Linked DNA regions of Homo sapiens: region 1 is linked to region 2. Evidence: promoter capture Hi-C in human tissues and cell types (Jung and others, 2019). All regions are on one chromosome and are shown on one strand. The core of a region is centred on a gene start or on the middle of the fragment in contact, and the rest is flanking DNA. Distances in the headings are between cores, read along the strand shown. Region 1 holds the start of STAC3 (SH3 and cysteine rich domain 3). Region 2 holds the start of MYO1A (myosin IA).

Region 1 (6,502 bases), core at 425-2,924, 200 kb after region 2:
CTTCAGCTGTAATGGCTTCCCAGCCCCCCACACCCAGTGGTCAGAGGCCCAGACTCACCCCACTTTGCCGAGTCTCTGCTGGGAAGGAGGGCTTAGGGGACTCCAGCACCTCCTTTTCTGTCATCCTGCAAGAGGTTGGACCCCACTATGAAATCTAATCCCTTTCATTCTTCTCTCCCTTTCTGTCCCTTGCAGTAGGGTGGTCCTCAAAGGGGAGGCTTTCGGAGAAATGTGATGAGAGATTTTGCTGTTGTTACTGTTGAGATGGGGTCTCACTCTGTCACCCAGGCTGGAGTGCAGTGGCGTGATCATGGCTCACTGCAGCCTCGACCTCCCAGCCTGAAGCGATCCCCCTACCTCAGCTTCCTGAGTAGCTGGAACACAAGGTGCACACTACCTGGCTACTTTTTTATTTTTTGTAGAGACATGGTCTTGCTTTGTTGCCTAGGCTGGTCCCGAACTAGCTCAAGCAATCTTCCTGTTTCAACCTCCCAAATTGTTGAGACAGGCGTGAGCCACTGCACTGGGCCAAATACAGATCCTTTGGCAGGTTTTATTAACAGATTTCATGGAGGTCTAGAAAAAAGCTTAACATGGCCGGGTGTGGTGGTGCATGCCTGTAATCCCAGCACTTTGGGAGGCTGAGGCAGGCGGATCACTAGAGATCAGGAGTTCAAGACTAGCCTGGCCAACATGGTGAAACCCCATCTCTACTAAATATATAAAAATTAGCCGGGTGTGGTGGCGGACGCCTGTAATCCCATCCACTCAGGAAGCTGAGGAAGGATAATCGCTTGAACCCGGGAGGCGGAGGTTGCAGTGAGCCGGGATTGTGCCACTGCCCTCCAGCCTGGGTGACAGAGCAAGACTTCGTCTCAAAAAAAAAAAAAAAAAAAAAAAAAAAGCCCAACAGACTAAAGAGCTTCCCAATTAGTTCCTCAAACTGATACTCATCCTTCCATCCTGAGGGGCGACCCCATAGTTTACAGCCCTTACACAGTGTTCAAAGCTGCGTGGTTTACGTCATTTTCCTATAGGTACTTTGTTTCTCCTGGAAATCTGTGGGCAACAGAGATGTGATGCATACCTTCCCAGATCTCCTCTCTTCAAGAGGTTTAATGTGTGTCCTCGTGTGCACACAAGGAAGGATGGACTGGAGACATTTGTCCTCCCCTACTTTTTTCTTGAGCCCTGGGGGCCCTGTGCCTAGTTCTGTCCCAGCCTGCCTCAGGGCTCAGCTATTTTAAGTTTTCAGGGTAATATGAGCCTTTCCTTCCCTTACTACTTCATTCCCTTCACCCCACCCCCACCCCCACCCCCCGCTTCAATCCAAACTCATCCTAGAGTAGAATAATAATTTTACGCCTAAAACCCAAAAGACTCACAGACAAGGAGAGAAATGAAGAAGCTGAGTAGATTATAGATCAGGGCAGCTGGGGTGAGCAGTCGTGGAAATCAAGAGGATGAAGAGGTAACTTACGTTCGGGATTCCCTAAGTCAGTCCACAGGCTGTAGAGGGAGCTGGGAGCCTCGAGGCCTTGATGGTGGTGCTGGGGAAAAACTGGTCCTCTTCCTTGGGGGCTAAGCCCCCCCAGTACCCCCTGTGTTCACACCAGCTACCCAGTCGCTATTTGTAGACCTCCTAGCCTCCTGCCTTGGTGTCAGGGCTGAAATGACAGGGCTGGAGGAAAGTGGACAGCTGAGAAACACAGCTGACACAGAGAAATTGGACACTGAGAGGTCTGGGGCAGGGCCGGACCCTAACTCCTCCCAACCCCCTAGAGCTGCTGTTCCTTGATTCTTCATCTAAGGCGAACAGGTGAATAATGGCTGAATTCAGGAAGGGACAGTTTCTGTTCATGCTCATTTAACATTTAAGGGGAGTTTATTTTTATTTTTCATTTATTTTTTGAGACAGGGTAAAAAAAGACTAATTTGAACTCATAGAGCTCTCCTATCAGCCATACTAGATGGCTTTTTTTTTTTTTTTTTTGAGACAGAGTCTTGCTCTTGTTGCCCAGGCTGGAGTGCAATGAAGCGATCCGGGCTCACTGCAACCTCCCAGGTTCAAGCGATTCTCCTGCCTCAGCCTCCTAAGTAGCTGGGATTACAGGCGCCCACCACCACGCCAAGGTAATTTTTGTATTTTTAGTACAGATGGGGTTTCACCATGTTGGCCAGGCTGGTCTCGAACCCCTGACCTCAGGTGATCCGCCTGCCTTGGCCTCCCAAAGTGCTAGGATTACAGGTGTGAGCCACCGTGCATGGCTAGATTGCTTTTTATCTGTAGGTGGTTGGAGGAGTACTTTGCTATCCTGTAAGAAAGTGAAGAATATGTAGTATTGCTTCATTCCCTCCAGCAGCTCCCAGAGACATCTCCCCACCCTCCTTCTTGTAAAATTTTGTCCTCAGACTGAAGGGAATTACCAGGGCTATTAAAAAGGGCCAGTTAACACTGGACAGAAGCATATAGCTGCCACATAAGGAATTTTTTAAATCATTTCTAAGTAATGTCCCCTTCCTCATGAGAACTGCAAACTCTTAAAGGTAGGATGGCCAACCCTCACACTTCCTAAACCCTTTTGATTCCCTGATTCCATCTCCCACCTTTGATGCCTCAGTATATAACTGATGGATCAAAGAGACAGATGCCATTCTCATCTCACAGGGGTGCACCCTTCTACTCTTTGGGCTGTGACATGGATGAAAGAGGAGATACTCCCATCTCAGGGGAGAGCAATTTAGAGGTGGCAATGCAGTGCTGCTCTATTCCTTGTATCTGTAAGAAATAAAGGACTGTGTTGGAGACTGGGTCAGGCAAGCTCCTGTAGGATCGTCGTTAGGGATACAGCTACTTGGACCCAAGAGATTTCCAGGGCAACGTGCTTTGTCATTCTCACCCACTACTTTTTTCTATTTAAGGGGGGAGTTTGAAAAGGGGGTGCAGGATGGTTCTGACTCTGCAGGTTCTTTAATGGCCCTGCTCTGACAGGCTGCAGAACAACAGGGCTTGCTTTGAGATGCTCTAAAGGAAAAGCTCCATCTTGCAGGCAAGATGACTTCTGCTCTTCGTCTTTTTTCAGCCACATAGGACAGGGACTGCTGAGCATGTTTGGATAATACAGCATCTTGGCACTGCGAGTTCAGTTGCTGTAGCTTTCATTGTAATAAAAATCTGCTTCTGTCCCTGACAGGTAAAACCCAATCCTCCAGCTTTAGGATTAAAGAAAGGCAGCCAGGCACGGTGGCTCACGCCTGTAATCACAGCACTTTGGAAGGCCGAGGCGGGTGGATCACAAGGTCAGGAGTTCGAGACCAGCCTGGCCAACATGGTGAAACCCCATGTCAACTAAAAATACAAAAATTAGCTGGGCACGATGGGGCACAGCTACTCAGGAGGCTGAGGCAGGAGAACTGCTTGAACTCGGGAGGTGGAGGTTGCAGTGAGCCGAGATATCGCGCCACTGCACTCCAGCCTGGGCAACAGGGCGAGACTCCATCTCAAAAAAAAAAAAAAAAGAAAGGCCCAAGTTCTCCATCCCTAAAGGGTTTTCAGAAGACGAGCTGGGCTGGGAGTGGTGGCTCATGCCTGTAATCCCAGCACTTTAGGAGGCCAAGGCGGGAGATCACTTGAGCCCAGGAGTTCAAGACCAGCCTGGGCAACATGGTAAAACCCTGTCTCTGCCAAAAATAGCAAAAAAAAAAAAAAAAAAGATTAGCCAGGCATGCTAGATCGCGCCTGTAATCCCAGCTACTCGGGAGACTGAGGCACAAGAATCGCTTGAACACGGGAGGCGGCTGCAGTCAGCTGAGATCTGCCACTGCACTCCAGCCTGGGTGACAGAGCAAGACCCTATCTCAAAACTCAACTACAAGGGCCCTAAATGAGTACACAGTACCACAGAATTAATAGTCTGGAAGGAAACCTAGAGGTCACCTACTAAGTCCAAGTCTCTTATTTTACTGATCTGGACACAGATCCAGAGTTGAGAAGTGATATGCTCGATGAACCACAGTGGCAGAACCGGGAGAGCCCAAAGCCATGGTCCCATTAGAGATCTAGCCATCTATCAGAACCGTGTACAGGGAAGAGGATGAGACAGAGGGAATGGTGTTAAAATAGTGTGCGTATGCTAGAGAAAGCCATCCCAACCCACGACAAACACCTCCAACAGCTGTAGGGCTATACCTACCCAGGGCCTCCAACCCTTTACCCATACCAGGGCGGCAACAGAGAAACAGTGACTGATGTCCAGTGACAGATTTTTTTTTTTATATTTAAAAACAAAACCAACCTCCCCCCAAATAACCCCCAAACAAACAAAAAAACAGATTAAATAAAATTTACAGTGAATATACCCAGCAAACATCTGTATGTGCAATTAAATACTGTGTCTGTTACTGCGGCACGAACCTCAAACAAACAATATACAAGTGTTCTGGGGGGGCCAGGGGAATCCCAAGTTTTAACTCTGTGGGGTCTAGGAAGACAAGATGGGGAAGTGAGAGAATGGGGCAATCAATTTTGTTTATCTTAATTCTGTCCATATAAATATATTCATAAAGACCAAAAAAGGAAAGGAAGCTTGGGATGTTAAGGTAATAGGAGGACAGTGTGGGACTTTCCCAATTCTACCTGACCAAAAAATGAGAAATTAATTTTATGATAGGAGAAGAGATTTAAAAAAATGATAGAAGAGGATGGAAGCCAGGCACAGTGGCTCACGCCTGTAATCCCAGCACTCTGGAAGGCCAAGGCAGGTGGATCACCTGAGGTCAGGAGTTTGAGGCCAGCCTGGCCAACATGGTGAAACTCCGTCTCTACTAAAAATACAAAAATTAGCCGGGCATGGTGGCGCGTGTCTGTAGTGCCAGCTACTTGGGAGGCTGAGGCAGGAGAATCACCTGAACCCAGGAGCTGGAGGTTGCAGTTAGCCAAGATCGTGCTACTGCACTCCAGCTGGGGTGACAAGAGCGAAACTCCGTCTCAAAAAAAAAAAAAAAAAAAAAAAGAAGAGGATGGGAAGAAGAGTGATGCAAGGGGGGTCAACCAGGGAAAAAGAGAGGACCCATGGCAGGGGAGCAAGAAGGAGTCCAATGCCAGTGTAGGTATCTGTGTTTCCATCTTCATCACTGTCTTAGGTTCCAGTTTAACATCAGTTTCCTTACTTCCTGCCTCTGTCCATGGTCTGTCAGGATCCTTCAACCCCCTCCACCCTGCCCTTGCTCCTTCTGTGACAGTCCCTTTCCCCTCCTCCATTTATTGGGAGCTGGCTCGCTCCAGGATCCTCAGGTCATAGTTCTTTTTGGCCATTCGAAGTTTGAAGCGACTCACGGAGTTGTTGAGACGAAGGGAGGCATTTTGGGCAGCCAGGGGGCTGGGGAACACAGCCACAATGGTGTACAAGGCAGCGAGGTCCGAGTGGCGGCCATTCTCAGCAGTCCCACTGTTGTCCCCCCCACCCCCTCCAGGCAGCCCCTGAGCATCCTTGAGCCACTGGATCTTGGCGCCAGACATGGCGAGCTGCGTGAAGAGTTTGTCCGCCTCAGTACGGGTGATGCCCTCAGGGAGATCTGTCACCTCCAGCACCCGCCCCAGGACTGGAAGGGGAGGAGAGAGGACATGGTTGTGAGAGGAATAGGACAGGAAGGACTTGACAGCAGCCCAGCAGAGAAGTGTCCAGCTGACTAAGTCTGTATACAATGTCTTCAAAAGCCTGGCCTTTCTCTCTTAGCCCTTTCTTCCCCTCCCCACCATCCCAGCTCTGATCAGGGCAACTAGGAGAAAAACAAATGAACCTTTCTATTCTCCTAGCCCAGAGATACAGGAAAGAAGGGACAGGGAATCAGAATCCTGGGTTTCTGAGCTAAGAACCTATACCTCAGTTCTCTCACAAGGTGCTACTGCTATGAAGAAAATGTGGCTTTTGCTAATGTTCTTTAACAATAATGTATCAATCTGAAATATGTTCCATAGTTCCCTTCCCACTCAGAGGCTGGCTCAAATAGATTCTTCCTTCTTATCATCTCAGGAAGTCAAGTTTCCCTTCCTTTCCTTGTTTAGGAAATTGCTCCAAATCCCAAGACAGATCTTGTTCACCTAGTGGGAGGCTTGTAGGACGAGAGTTTCTCCCCCATATTCTCTACCAATCTTCTCCTAAACTGGGTCTAGGACTACCAAAGGTAGATGTCGTAGATTAGGGACAGGACACTAATTAGAAAACTCTTTGTTAATAAGAGGCAACTCCCATAATTGTGTTATTCCCACTTTTTACCATGATCTTCCTCAGAATCTGAGATGGCTTGGTAGGGAGGACTGAGATACTTCACTTCTCCAGTTTCTGCTTGCTTTTGAGCACAAAGGGTCCCACTTCCACTCCCCATCCTAAGCTGGCTTTTCCCACCCATGCTGGACTGGTAATTAAGCGCTGGAAGGGTGGGCACCTTCTCTTGGGGATTCAGCATCCCGTGACTCACCAACATCTGCTGTCCCCAGGTCAGT
Region 2 (6,103 bases), core at 3,234-5,733:
TAGAATCACCAGAAACCAAAGAGACATTCTTAGGGGCCAGACACCCACGGTGCTCACAGCCAGAGAGGAGATTGGGAGGCAAACTCCAGTAGGGCTTAAAGTCCACCAGACACTCCAGTGATGCCCACCCAGAGCCACTTCAGGCCAGTCCAGCATCCAGGCTGTGATGGACCCTTCCCCAGGCCAAGCCAAGGGGCTCTAGGTCTTCTGCTCTTATAGCCAGCTGCACAGGCCTGATGGCCCCGATCACACAATATTACAATGGATCTGCTCACACACCTCTTATCCCTAGAAGACTATAAGTTCTTCGAGGACAGGGTCATGTCTTACTCAACTCTGTATCCCTAGAGGCTAGCATAATATTTGATCATAGGTGTTCAAGAGATGTTGAATGAATGAATAAATGAATGAGTGAATGAATGAATGAAAAGAAAATCAGGAACAGGGTCCTAGGTAAGGCAGATGTAGACCCAGGACAGCTTCAACTAGAGTTCACTGAAAGTTCCTGAACACTTACAACATTCTGCCTGCTTCCCTGCTTTAATTAAATCCCCTTAAGTTGAAGGTAGGAAGGAAAGTAGATGGATATAAGTGTTTTATATTTGAAGCCAGCTCAGGGAAAGCAGAACCCAGGCAGGAAAGAGGAACGAGAACAGTGAAGAGGCAAGAAGGCATATCCCTGGCAATAAAACCCCAGAAAAGGAAGAGAACACAGGGGTAAAGGAATTTGTTCCCAACAATGAGTGGGTGAGGCTGAGAATGGGAAATGCAGCAAGGAAAATCTGGGAGGCTCAAGGGAAGAGGGCTGTAGGGGCCCAGAGGGAACAGGGGTTCTGGGACTGAATGGAGGTTGGGGACTTTGCCATGTGTCACTCATGAGGACACTTTCCCCATGCAGGCACATACTCAGCAGCTGTTCATCTGCTCCAGCCAGCAGCTGATAGAAGATGTGGAAGTTCCTTTCTCCTTTGAGCTGCTTCACTAATCGGGATTTCTCAAGCAGATCTGGCAGAGAATTAGAAAAATAATATCCTGAGGGCCTGGGAGATGCCGTAGCTTCTCCAGCCCTACTGGAGAATGCCCCCATCGCCGGCATTCCTAGTGGTTGGGAAGTCTCCTTGACGTCTAACATTCTGCCTTTCTACAGGAACAGATTAGCAGAAAGGGCCATGGGAGGCAGGTGGAAGACAGGTGAGTGGAATTGGGGAGACACGTACAGTTTGTGATGACACCACCGAGGGGGGATCCCTTGAAGTCAAATTCAATATCCATGTATTTTCCCTTCAGAGAGAGACCAGAGAGAGAGACTTAGCTTCTTCCTCTTCTCACCACCCTGCCTGGAAGGGGTCTGTGCCACATTCCTCCCTCTTAAGCCCCCACATCCTCTCTTCCCAGGTGGGGAGACATTTACTCACAAATCGGGAGGAATTGTTGTTGCGAATGGTCTTGGCATTGCCAAAAGCTACAGAGATGAGGAGGGGAGAAGTGAAACTCTAGAGAAGGGAAAGGAGGAAGGGCTTCCAGTCCTCATGACAATCTCAGATTTTTCTGGGTCGAACAAGAGAGGTGATTTTGCAGCACTGGGGAAGAGGGTCTAGGGCTCAGTGATTCTGGGGGTTAGATGGAGGGTGGAGAGGGCAGAGAGCAGAATTCTCACCCTCCAGCACTGGGTTAGACTGTAGCAGCTGCTCCTTCACAGAGTTCACCTGCTCTCCTTTCCCACAGACGGCAGCCACATAAGACATCACCAGCTTGCTGGCCTCTGTGCAGGCAAAACGCTCTCATGGGTCCCCACCCAGGACTAGCCCATCCCCCCACCTCCTTAACTTGCTTCACCCCAGTGCCTCACCACCCCTTGGAGTCAGAAAAAGTGGAAAGGAAGTTCTGTGGGGTGGAGGGTCAGGTCTAGGTCTGGCTTGCAAAGAGACAAGGAAGCAGTTCCAGAGGTGACTCCATGTGTTCCCCCAGCCAGGGGCCTCACCAGTCTTCCCTGATCCACTCTCGCCTGTGATGAGGATACACTGGTCTCGGTCCCTGTCCCTCAGTGACTGGTACGCCACATTTGCCAATGCGTAGCTTGTGGGGAGGAAGTGGGCAATGACTATTGTGAAACCAGTTCAAGACACCATCTTTCACTCAATCTCCAGCACGCAGGTTCATCCACTCTCTCTACTTGGAGCAGACTGGGCAAGATGTGACAGGCCTTGGAAGGGGCCTCCAGAAGGCCAGGGAAGGAAGGGGCAGCTGGAGAAGCCCCTTCAGGGGAAGGGACAAAGGAAATTAGGATGACTCAGTGTCAAGAAGCTGGGGCCCTGTCAGCCTTCCCTTGGTCCCCCTACTCACATATGGGGCTTCAGCTCATAGAAAGTATAGTCTTGATATTTGGCAATGAACTCTGGCCCATAGATGGGAAGCTGTTGATAGGGATTCACTGAGATCACCACATTCCCAATGTAGGTCTGGAGCCAGGAAGAAGGTGAAGGGAATGAGCTTGAGGGTGAGGTGGGAGCCTGTGACCTCTCCAGCCACATATCCACAGCCAGAGGCACCCATATGACACTCACATAAATCTCCTTGTTTTCATAGCGAAGCTGAAGATTCTTGAGCAGTGACTCCTCCACCAAGGGTTCCAGGAGGACAAGATCCTCCACCCCCACAGAACCTTCCAGGAGAGGCATGTCCAGAGGGGCCACTGATCCTGGGAATAAGAGGCACAGTTTGCTGATGTCCACTCAGCTTTAGGGGCCAGTAACTGTTTGAGGGGAGGATGGCAGAAGGACCAAAAGAGCCTTCCTCTCTTCCTACCCTGGCCCTAAAGAGAGCCCCCAACCTAGGAGAGGCCTCTGGACCAGCCCAAGCTAATAGGGAGGCTGAAACTCTCAGCAGGAGGTGGGGGAGATCCTCTGCTGCCTGGGTTACAGTTGGTGGGGGTGGGGCAGGGGTGGAACAGGAACACCTTCCTCTGACCACCAGGGGAAGGCAGGCACCCAGTGGGCTACAACTGGGGGAGCAGAGTTGTGACTGAAGGAGAGAGGGCTGAGGAGGAAAGTGTAAGCAAAGACTTGTGCTGCCGCCAGGTACAGAAAGCCCTCTCTCTCCTACAATGGGCCCTGGCCAGGGTCCAGACTCCCCATCTACCCCCAGTGCTTCTTCTCAACACCTTACCTCTCACAGCCCCTATTAAAGACACCCAACCTACCCATAACCATTTCAGAAGTTCTTCCAAAGGTCTCTCCTTCCCTGTCATTGCTACAGTGAGCTTCATTTTTAAAATGGGAACTTGACAAGGCAGAATTATAGAGGATAGAGGCAGGATTCCTCCATAAGAGATTGGAATTTCCCAAAGAAAATGAAAGTGGGGTTTGCTTCCCCAACAAACAGGCAGTTGTCAGGACCTCTGGATGTGCTACATGTCTGTCTCTATTTTTCCATCTCTAGCTTTTACACCCACTCCTGTAAACTTCTGGCATGGACTTTGCCCCAGAGGGACACACCTAGCTTCTTGCGGGAGTGGGCAAGGAGGAGCACAGTTGGAACTACAGGGAGGGTGGTGGGGCTTGGCCCCCATGCAGTAGGCACATGGCAGGTGTTCCCTAAGGAGGAAACCTGGCCCTCCTCAGTCTTTCCTGTGAGACTGAGTAGGCAGAGTGGCCAGGCACAGGACAGGATTATTAGTACAATGGTCAAGGCCACTCCTGAACAGGAATGAAAGAGACACATCCTCCTATGCTATTGCATCTCTGAACCCGGGTGGAGGAGCGGAGGAAGGAGGAACGGAAGTGGGGCAAGAAGGGGCACAGGCTTCCTTCTCCCTTCACTTGGCTTTCCCCAAGCTCTAGGAAAAGAGAGCACTTGTCACTTACCAGAAGGACACAACTGAGGAAGCAATAAGAATATCAATAATAGCAGTCTCTAGGAATCATGCAGCGTTTACCACGAACTGGGCAGGGCTCTAAGCACTGTACATACACTAATTCATTTAGTGCTTACAATATCCCCATGAAGTAGATACTATTTTTGTATTTTCTAGATTTTACAAAAAGCTAAGTCTTTTAACTAACTTGGCAGGGAAGGGTGAGAAGCAGAAGGTGGGTTGGGAGCAGTCATCTTCTTTGGATTTGGATTTGAAGGGAGTGGGAATGTGACTGGTTGAGGGTGGGGAAGGGAAAAAGGCAAGAGGCCCCAGATGGGGCGCCCCAAGGTGTTAAAGAGAAGCAGTGACAGGTCAAGGCAGGACTCACCCAACACTGGAACTAGGGTATAACTTCACTGTCCTTGGAGAATGGTGGATGAAATCTCAATTTGACAGGAATGGGGCATAAGAGTCCTGGCCCCAGGATGGAGAGGTGGCTTAATGGGAGCTGTCCATGGTGCAAGGAAGCTGGGAAAAAGGCTGCCCTCCTCTTGCCAGTGTCCACTCTTCTGATTTTCCCTTTTGCTGCCTCTTCCAGCCCAGGCTCCCTGTGCCAGTCAAACCAGGAGAGGCCGGAGATGGCTGATCAGCACAAAGTCCAGACTGTTCCTGCTGAGGGTGTGGCTCACTTAACCCTTCACAGGCCTGAAGCCCCAGAGGGAGACACTCAAGCTCCCTCTAGGTAGGAAAGGGTATCTGGCTGGCGTTAGCTGAGAGGCTTAACTAAAGGAGGGTTCTTGCTCCATTGTCTCCCAAATTTGGAAATGAAAGCTGGAAGAATGGAATTTATAGCCAAGGAAAATATTTCCCAAAGAGAAGTCAGGAATTTTGTCAAGGACAGGTAGGGCCAAGTGCGGTTGCTCATGCCTATACTCCCAGCACTTTGGGAGGCCAAGGCGGGAGGATCACTTGAGCCCAGGAGTTCGAGACCAGCCTAGGCAACATGGCGAGACACGTCTTTACAAAGAGTGTCTTCCTAGCAAAAAAACAGTACCTCCCTCATACCTACTCTTCCTATCTTATCGGGAGTCAGGGGATGTTAATGAGATTACTTGGAGAGCTAAGCAGACAAAATCCCCAAATTCTTCTCCACTTCCCTTCCCCCATGAATCAGACCCTATCATAGAGACCCAAAGATTAAAGTGATTAGTAATAATACCTCACATGTGTATAGATGTCCCAGTTTCATTGAACTCCCCCTTGCATTGCCTCACTGAATAGCACCACCCCGAGGAAGGCAATACAGATACTCCATTAAAATGGAAAACTAGGAACAAACACCAGACTCAGAGAGGTTACACAATGTGCCCACAGTTCCATGCTAGTGCATGGCAGAACCAGGAACAGAATGCAGCTCCCTAAGTTTGCCAAAAGTTGCAGCCCAAGTTCTGAAGTTTCTAATTTTAATTCGTCAGCACTAGGATACTGAGTAAGACCCTGAGCTAATGTAATAGCTCCCTCTGATAGATAAGAAGTACCCCTTCATCCAGCCAGGAAAATTCCTAAAAACAGCAAGCCCCCTCTGCCTACCATCCTCTCTCCCAGGCATGCAGAAAGAACAAATTAGGTAATTATAGACACTTAACTGAAGAGAGACTTGATTCTCCAACTCTCAGCTATGGCTGCTTGGTGCAAGGTCCAAACTCTATGGCTCTCACAGAAGCACTCTGCGTAAGCCTGGCACATCAGCAGTTCTATTATCAACCTGCCTTTACATAATTTATTGATCTACTACATATATTTGAAGGTGGAGGGGGGCAAGGAAAAGAGAGAAAGCTGAGTGGAAGTGACATCAAAACATAATGCTATGTGTAGGTGGAGCAGTATCCATGTCCTAGAGGCAGAAGTGACAAATATCACCTATTTACCAGTGGAGGAAACAGATCTAGAGTGAGAAAACCACTTTTCCAGGGTCACACCACTGCAAACCTGGCAGAGCTGGCACCAAAACCCAAGTCTCATGTTCTCTAGGCCAGGAATCTGCAGCCATCTGGGGTTTACCTGCATGTCCACCCATTCAGTCAACTGAGTGCCTACTATGTGCTTACTCACGAGAAAAGTGACTCTAAAATGAGATGGCACTCTCAGGTGTAAGAACAATGACATGAACATCACAGCTAGGGCAACCAACTGTACTGATCCGCCTGTGGGACACAGTGGGGTTCTCTGGACATGGGAATTTGAGTGTTA

The links. The method cuts DNA at HindIII sites, captures the fragments that hold promoters and counts their contacts. A contact is called where the count stands out against the background at its distance.
Region 1: the fragment with the promoter of STAC3 here is called in contact with the fragment with the promoter of MYO1A in region 2 in 2 of the 25 tissues and cell types used here (adrenal gland and aorta).

What each region holds. Positions count from the first base shown.
Region 1 is chr12:57,249,513-57,256,014 of GRCh38, forward strand. STAC3 (SH3 and cysteine rich domain 3) reads right to left here and starts at 1,675. Exons shown (of 12, transcript NM_145064.3): 1 at 1,481-1,675; 2 at 59-125. The coding sequence starts at 124. R3HDM2 (R3H domain containing 2) reads right to left here. Exons shown (of 24, transcript NM_001394031.1): 23 at 6,478-6,502; 24 at 4,252-5,601. The coding sequence ends at 5,261. The HindIII fragment of the contact is 9,667 bases long and covers 1-5,811 here.
Region 2 is chr12:57,045,646-57,051,748 of GRCh38, forward strand. MYO1A (myosin IA) reads right to left here and starts at 4,484. Exons shown (of 28, transcript NM_005379.4): 1 at 4,242-4,484; 2 at 2,565-2,698; 3 at 2,344-2,459; 4 at 1,982-2,076; 5 at 1,658-1,762; 6 at 1,416-1,462; 7 at 1,218-1,281; 8 at 907-1,005. The coding sequence starts at 2,678. RefSeq lists an enhancer at 1,206-2,405. The HindIII fragment of the contact is 15,407 bases long and covers 1-6,103 here.